Linked DNA regions of Homo sapiens: region 2 is linked to region 1. The links are contacts of gene promoters, found by promoter capture Hi-C in human tissues and cell types (Jung and others, 2019). All regions are on one chromosome and are shown on one strand. Each heading gives the region's core, a stretch centred on a gene start or on the middle of the fragment in contact. The rest is flanking DNA. Distances are from core to core; before and after follow the strand shown.

Evidence for each region. Contacts are between HindIII fragments. The study calls those that stand out against the background at their distance.
Region 2: a contact is called between a fragment that was not itself captured here and the fragment with the promoter of COL25A1 in region 1, in 1 of the 25 tissues and cell types used here (H1 embryonic stem cells).

What each region holds. Positions count from the first base shown.
Region 1 is chr4:109,300,350-109,304,316 of GRCh38, forward strand. COL25A1 (collagen type XXV alpha 1 chain) reads right to left here and starts at 2,309. Exons shown (of 38, transcript NM_198721.4): 1 at 1,820-2,309; 2 at 1,374-1,726; 3 at 234-303. The coding sequence starts at 1,670. It overlaps COL25A1-DT (COL25A1 divergent transcript), which reads left to right and starts at 2,686. Exons shown (of 3, transcript NR_160939.1): 1 at 2,686-2,978. RefSeq lists an enhancer at 2,381-3,163. The HindIII fragment of the contact is 11,543 bases long and covers 1-3,967 here.
Region 2 is chr4:109,160,272-109,164,238 of GRCh38, forward strand. The region is part of intron 3 of COL25A1 (collagen type XXV alpha 1 chain); the gene reads right to left. Among named protein-coding and RNA genes, the nearest start is that of COL25A1, 140 kb to the right of the region's middle. The HindIII fragment of the contact is 3,474 bases long and covers 420-3,893 here.

The sequences.
Region 1 (3,967 bases), core at 1,059-3,558:
TTCTTTGGTGATTATATCCTTTGCTTTCCCATAACAGGCCTTGGTATGCTGCTTAAAATAATATTTGGGGCTTTATTTGCCATCCTTTTGAATGAGACATGTTGATTTTATTAAAGCAAGTTGGGTCTGCATTCTTTCTTTACTATTATTACAGGTAGACTTGACAGACACAGGACCTTTGTTTTAAAATGCTCTGCTCTGGAGGAAACCTTGTTAAATAAGTTCCATTTTACCTGCTGGGCAGTTACATTCTGAAGGTGCTTCTCTTGCGATTCTTATTTTAGCCATATGTTCATAGGATTTCTGTAGGAAAAGAAGAGTTATTAATAATCATCAGTAGCACTGTAGAGGGATGGAGTCTTTAGGGACTCTGGCCATACGCCTGATTTACCGGCATTTCATAACCTGCATAACTAACATTTACATATGTACTTGGACTCTAGTCAAGAAAGTAACCATGCCTAAGTCCTAAAAAAAGAAAATGACCACTGATAGGGTATCAAGATTGCTGGACTTGTATAACATCTTTCTCCATTCTTCTCTACCACCACTCTCTCCCTCAGCTCAAGCATATGCAGTCAATGTAAAAACCTAGCACTAAAATGTTGCAGTATTAGGTAAGCTGTGGCTTACCAATAACAGCCAATATTTTATACATGAAGGTCAACTGCTTTATTTATCATGCTAGGCTGCAACTACTGCCAAATAGGCTCCCGGCTAGGGTAAGGTTCCAGAAAACCCCCTTACTCTAGTCTAAAGGTACCCTTACACATAACATAGATTCCTCTCAACTCTCAATTCCAAGGGCTCTGCATTCATAAATACCCCGGCACTGCATCCTTTACCAAAAATAAAGCTACTTTAAAAAAAAAAAGTTTAAACTTTTAATATGAAAAGATTCAACGTGTGAAATTATTGATTTTAAATTATATATGACATTATTTTACATTTAAGAGTGATTACCTTTTTTATATATTAATAACATCTATGACCCTAACCATCTTACAACATGTAAAAGATTTAACAGATGCTATCTCTGCAAGAAATATTCTCTCCACAATTGGGTTTGACTTAGGACAACTAAAAAGAGATAAAATGCCCTTTCCGAACCCTTTTAGACCTTCCTATGTGTTTAACACGCAAACATTAAGAGAGAGTGAGGGAAGATTAGAGATAGGGATGGGGACATCAAGGGATGTGCACATATAAATATATGCTACAGTGAGCATAGATCCTTGGCCAACACATGCACGCGCGCGCACACACACAGCCACACCAAGTATGGGTACAGTAAGGGTAGCGGCTAGTCATGCACACAGAGTCACGCTTGTACAAGATGTTACCCACGTGCAAAATACCCCAGCCTCTCACACCTGAGCCAGAAGTCGCTCCACTTTCTCTTGCACCATAGTCTTGAGGTGATCCAGGGTATCAGGCAGCAGATGAATGGAAGGGGCCCCTTTGGCGGATTCGAGAGCGGCGATCCTCGCCTGGAGGTCGTTGGTTTTCACACCCAGGTACAGGCAAGACACCACGGCCACCACTGACAGGAGGGCCGCCAGGACGGCACACGGGGGCATGGTCCGGGCACAATGCTGTTCGGCAGGGGTCGGGTCCTCGGATCTGGGCTCCCGGCCCCCTCCTTTCCCTGCGTGCTTCTTCAGCAGCATCGTGGCGGGGTCGGCCGTCTCGGCTTCGCTTCCCACCCTCTACACCTCAAATAATCCTAAAAGGAAAGAAAAAGGTCGATTCCTCCAAAGTTCAGTCCCTGTGGCTGCACAACTAGTTGGTGGAGTCAAGCCCACGAGCGGATACGGACCCCTGCCTTGCTCAGCGTCCAGACCCGCAGGCGTGCACCATCCCCGCTTTCTTCTCTCCTCCCAGCTGGAAGTGAAAAGCACCCTCCGTCCGGGGACTGGGTGGCGGTGGGGTAAAAAGCAAGACGAAACCCACCCAGACAGCTCTTCCGACTCCCAGAGGACCGACACCTCTTTCGAGGGCCCCAACAGTGGCCGCTCAGGGTCCGAGGGCAACGGCCGAGGCGCCACGCGGGGCCGCGGCTCGCCCTGGCCACGGAGGACCGGACCTGTTGCGCCTCTGTGAGTTTGCCTTATTTCTACCTACTCGGTGTCTTTCGGCACGCCGACCTGTTTCCCACCTGCATTCAGTTCAAGGCAAAAAGGCTGTGAGAGCACGCTACAGCGCAGCGCGAAAGGGGCGACTAAGGTGGAGAAGAGAGAGGAAAACGAAATAAACCCAAGGAACCAATGCTACTCGCGAAGCCGAAGTCGCGGCTGCCCGAAGGATCTCCGCAGCCCCGCGTGCGCGATCCTTAAATACCCTTCGCGATGCTCGCGTGAGTGTGTGTGTGAGTGTGTGAGTGCGCGCGCGCTCCGAGCACGACGTCCCTCCCCCGACCCCCTCCCGGCGCCCGGCGTCCGGCCTGCCGCTCCCGCTGCTGCGCGCCCCCCTTCCGAAGGCAAAGCAGGAGCCCGCCTTATTATCATAATGTATTCACCTTGGCCCAGCCCGCGGGCCGGCCCGGGGAACCCCCAAGGGAGGCGGGAAGCTTGGGTGGGAGCGGGGCAGGAGGTCTGTTATTAGCATAATGTATGCAAATAGCTGGAGCGGCCACCGTGATTGGAGAGGAGCCTGGCGACCCCTCCCCCTGCGCGGAGTAACTTCAGCATCTCCGAGGGCCACCTCTCTGGCCTGGGCCGGGGCCGAAGCGGGGTCGGCTGCGCAAGAGGCGGCAACTTTGGCTTATACTGACTCAGCCCAGCGCCCCCTTTTTATCCCACATAAAAATGGAGAAATGGCCTCCGGGAGGAAGATGTGAAGCGGCACGCTCTATCTCTACTGATCTTCACTCAAAAGCAGCCGCAGGAGCTGTTGCTATCTCGCTGTGGTGCAGCGCTTTTCCCTCCTCCCTCACTTTCCCACATGCCCAGAGGCAAAGTGTCTGGCCGACGTCTGAGGTACATTTCCCCACTTCCCTTCTCTTCCCACTGCAGCCCTCAGATTGTCCAACGAGGGGAAGTTTTCCTTCCCCTCCCCCAGTTTCCTTGTCTTGACGGCACTGAGTCTCCTCCCAGCTCTGTATTCCTAGTCTGTACTAGGGTGCTAATGTGTTTTCCTGATTCCCTGTTTTGCGGGATTGGAAAAGGGAGTGTTGAGGTATACACATTTCTCAGGATTTAGGAAAGGAATGAAGAATGAAGTCAGTTTTTCCTTTTACCTGACTCTTAATGCTGTTCTCTCTGGATCAAATTACAAGGTCTCTAATGGGATTTTGGAAAGTTGGTAACAAGTAGCATTTGACATCTAATTGACTTTGGGGAAAACAGAAATCCCACCTCTTATTCCAAAGAGTTCCTTCTTATCTCCCTATAAAAAAAAAAACCATATATTTTTCCTATTCTCCTTAATTAAGCTAACCTGAAGTCGTTGCTTACTATTGTAAACAGTCAACAAAATACTTCACTAAGTTGGTCTTTCACATGTGTAAACGGATATTGCTAGGTGTGAAGCAAGGTAAGGAAATAACAGCATTAGAGGAAGAAAGAGACTAACATTGGAGGAAAACTCAATGAATTTGGCTATAAAGTCAAAACCATAATTCATTTGTATTACACAGTGGTTCTCAAAGGATGGTCCTAGACCAATAACATCAGCATCACCTGAGAACTTGGACATTAAAATTCTAGGTTCCTACCACAGATCTGAATCAGAAACTGCTACTACCACTACTGAAATAATAATTTTAAAAAAAACAGCAATCTGTGTTTTAACAAGCCCTCCAAATGATTTTGATATATACTACTAAAGTTTGAGAACCACTGGTATAATACTTTCCAAAATATTTTCAAATACTTTTTGTATTTGAACCTCATAACCCTGCGATGTGAGGATTTACTGTTCCTCTTTTAAATATAAACAACGTTTTTAAATAAATTTTAAAACAGAT
Region 2 (3,967 bases), core at 907-3,406, 140 kb before region 1:
TCACTCCTTAAAGTTGAACATACGTGTAAAGTTGAAGAAAAGAACATCTCTTTTGTTCATTTTTAATGTCTGAATTAGCAAAATGAAAACAATCAAAAATTTTAAGTTATGTTTATAAATAGAGCAAACTATTAACAGAAAGTAAAATTGCCTTGGAAATTGGCCATACTTAACCCTAAGTAATAAACATTATTGCAAGTTTTTGTTTTTAAATTGAAGGTAAAGAAAAGCAGAGGAGATTTCTACTTATATTTTTATACCTAAGTTCGCCCTGCTTCAACCTGTCATGGATAAGCCACTACTACCTACAAGATGCCTTGGGAACGGGCTCTGTCCATCTGCACAATTTAGCATATTTGCACTAATTACTACAAGACTGGCCTATTGTTGGTCCTACAAACAGTCAGTGAGCCTGAGGTCAGCAGGAAGAGCTCTATGACCCACGCACTGACCCCAAGGGATGGCCAGTGACCTGCCGGCCTGACCTGTAAGTGAGGAAAGAACTAAAAATTCTCATCAGGATTCACTCTTTTTTTAAACTCAAAAACTAAAGTTTTTAAATGAGCATACCCTAAAATCCCTTTACCAACCTACATATTATGTAATTGGCTTATTTCCTTTTATTATAACAATACAGCATTTTATTTTTATAAATTTGAATATTGTTAGACTCTGTACATCTTATATAATCCATATATGAAATATTTATAATAATTTACATAGTATAACTCTTTTTCTAATTCTCTTTTGAGACAGGGTTCTCACTATGTTGTCCAGGTTAATTTCAAACTCCTGGCCTCAAGCGATCCTCCCACCTTTACCTCTCAAAATGCTGGGATTACACACATGGCCTCAACTATTTTATATGAATTTCAACTACATCATGATCTAGTTGGGGAACTAGAACCAGGGGAAATTTTGCACCCGGGAGATATTTGACAATCCCTGGAGACATTGATTCTTGCAACTAGAAGGTGGGACAGGCATCTGGTGGGTAAAAGTCAAGGATACTGCTAAATATTCTATAGTGTATGGGACAGCCACACAAAACAAAGAATTATCTGTTCTGAAATGTCAATAGTGCCAAGGTTGTTCTAGTTGATAGAAACCTGAATTAGTTCCTCTTACTGATTTGCCTTATAATCTAGTAAATCTGTTCTTTCTTTCTTATCCTTAAATATCTACATCAAGTAACATTATATTGTTATAATATAATTACCTGAATTGATTGTTTAAATATAAGCTTTCTGAACCCCTGAAGATGAATCTGAATTGTTAGGAAAGAGATAAGGGAATTTACATTGATATCCAGCACTGTACTCTTTCTGCTGCACTCTGAATTGTGGAAGCCAAATATCTTCTTTGTTTTATATAACAAAGTATTTGCTTTTTCCATGTTTAAACTCTGGAAGTTATATTGTATTTTCTTAAACAATTCAGAAAAACAAAAACAGATAACATTCCAGTTACTATATTAATACTTTAAAATTATACTGAAGATGGAAAAGACATTGGAGTTCATTTGTAAAACTTTCTTATAGGTGAGAAACAAGAGGAGAAGTGCCTGAGATTCCCGGACCAGTTAGTGACTTCACCAGGGACCGTGTGTTAACTAGAGTAAGGTATGAAGAAGTAGTTCACTCCAAATCTCAGGCAACAGGTAACATCTAGTGAATCATTCGGCAGCGCACTGAACTTTCCTGTGTGGTCTCTGCCAGCCATTCCAACATCATGTCCAATGCTCTGCATATGGGGCCAGGAAAGTAATGTAGTATCAAGAACATAGAAAAGAACATGAGGACATTTTTAAGATAATATAGAATTCAATTCAAATTAGTGTAATATGGTGCAGTTGACATAAATACAGGCAATTGAAGATATAACAGGGGAAATATATCAGGAAAGGCTTCCCGTAGAAGGTTTTGCATCAGATTTTTAAGGAAGAAGAGGAGAAAGATTGGCTAGAAAGAGGCATAGGGCATTTTTGGTACATGCAAAGGCCCAAAAATAGAAATTAGCAAATCAAAGTCAGAGAACTGCAAGTAGTTGTAAGTGACTGGAGCAGGCAGATCATACTGGAGAGTGCTCAGAAATTAATTTGTTAAGGTCAGCAGTCTAATGCAGAAGAGCGAAAAGAAGTGGTGAAATCATCCAAGTGCCAGGCTGTATAGATTCTCAAGACACCTGCAACTACTGTCCATCAGCTTGTTTTGTTTCCTACATAGCAGTGTGACTCCCTAAAATCATTTTTATTTACCTACTTGGCTTTTGTTGGTCTCCCTAACTACAATGCAAGTTCCATGCACTGAGTTTGGGTTGCCAGGAGGAATGTCTAGAGTCAACGAGAGCACTTTAAAATGAGGTGGATAGTATGGGAGCTATAGAAATAAGAATGAGTGTGACTAACATGAATTAGATGGAAAGAGTCAAAGTTTACTGGACCGTAACAGCTGATTTACCTGCTATGCTACAGATGTGGCCTGAGAGGCACTGTCTGACAGAGACCGGCCTCACTGAACATGTGGGGAACTGGCATCCCAGCAGCTGCCTGAACATGCAGAAGAGTTAATGACCTCCTCTCCAGGGAGTGAATTTATTTTAACTAATGTGATTTTTACCTAATTTTTTAAAAAGGGAGCCAGTGGATAAGTCGTTCTCTCTTCCTCCCCTTGAGGCACTGTTCTGACATGCATTAGTTCCTATGTCCTCTCTGATGATGTGCTGTGAGACTGAGCCATCTTTGGGGTAATTCTTGTGAAGCTGCAGCTTGGTAAAGTTCACCTCCTTATGTTTGTTCAACAACCTTTCACCTCCCCTGCTTTGCTCCGTTTCCCCCTCACTTCTGCTTCCCTAGGTTTGTACTCCCCAGTAAAGTGCTAGGATGTTAAGCTTCTGACTCAGGCCATGTTTTCTGGGCATCCCAGGCTAAGACAAAAGCTATTCTACCTACTAAATGAAACTCAACCCAAGTACTTAGTGTGTTGATTTTCAACCTACGTGGTCAAATCCAGCAAGGTTTAGAGATGTGTACAGTGTTACTAAGTGGGTGGCACAGGCTTTACGTTGCCAGTTCATCTGCCCAAAATTGTTTCCACCAGATACAATGGCCTTTGCTGCAGCCATGTAAAAACTGTGCAGAGTTTTTTGGCCTATATGACTAGAGAATATGCAAGGTGGGACATGAAGGAACTGAGGACAAAAGAGAGGTAGGTTAGCAACACACAGAAAAGAAGCAACAGGGAAATGGAAGCAGACTAATTGCAGAAGATCAACCATTTCCCCCCAGCAGGAATTCCTGCTGCACAGGCTGCATGGCAGATTTTGGAAGCCTAAACAGCATGAATGGCTAAAGGTGTTTTCTGATGAATGAGGTTTTACTTCTTTGGCAGGTAACTGAAGTCTGACTTTGGGAACAAGAACACCTGGAAGTCAGCTCAGCTCTTGAACTACTCCCAATTCCTCATATCAGGTTCATTATGAGAAGCCACCTGTGCCTCTGCTCATCAAATCCTGCTGGTTTCTGGTTCTGATCTGTTGCAATGCACCAAAGAGTCATTTTTATTTACAAAAGTAAAATAAATAATTCATAAGGATTTCCTGACCCTTCAGCTTTGAGCCAATGTGAAATTGGTCTATGTTGATGATCACAGAATTGTAAATTGCTTCAACACTTCTGCTAAGTAATTACTTAATCCAAGTAGTAAAACCTGAGTAATATAAATTAACGAGTGGTATGGCTCAGTTTTAATTACTGAAAATTATGAATTACAAGGTTTTTTTTTTAAGAAGTGCTTATGGAAGAGAATGCTATGTATTCAACAAACTCTGCTTGCTTTTTCTCTTGGGCACACAATGGAATGCAGGCAGAAGTGGGCCTGGCTTGTGCACACAATGGAATGTAGGCAGAAGTAGGCCTGGCTTGTGCAAGAAACCTGGTATGCAAATCCTCCATGATTTTTTCCTTTTC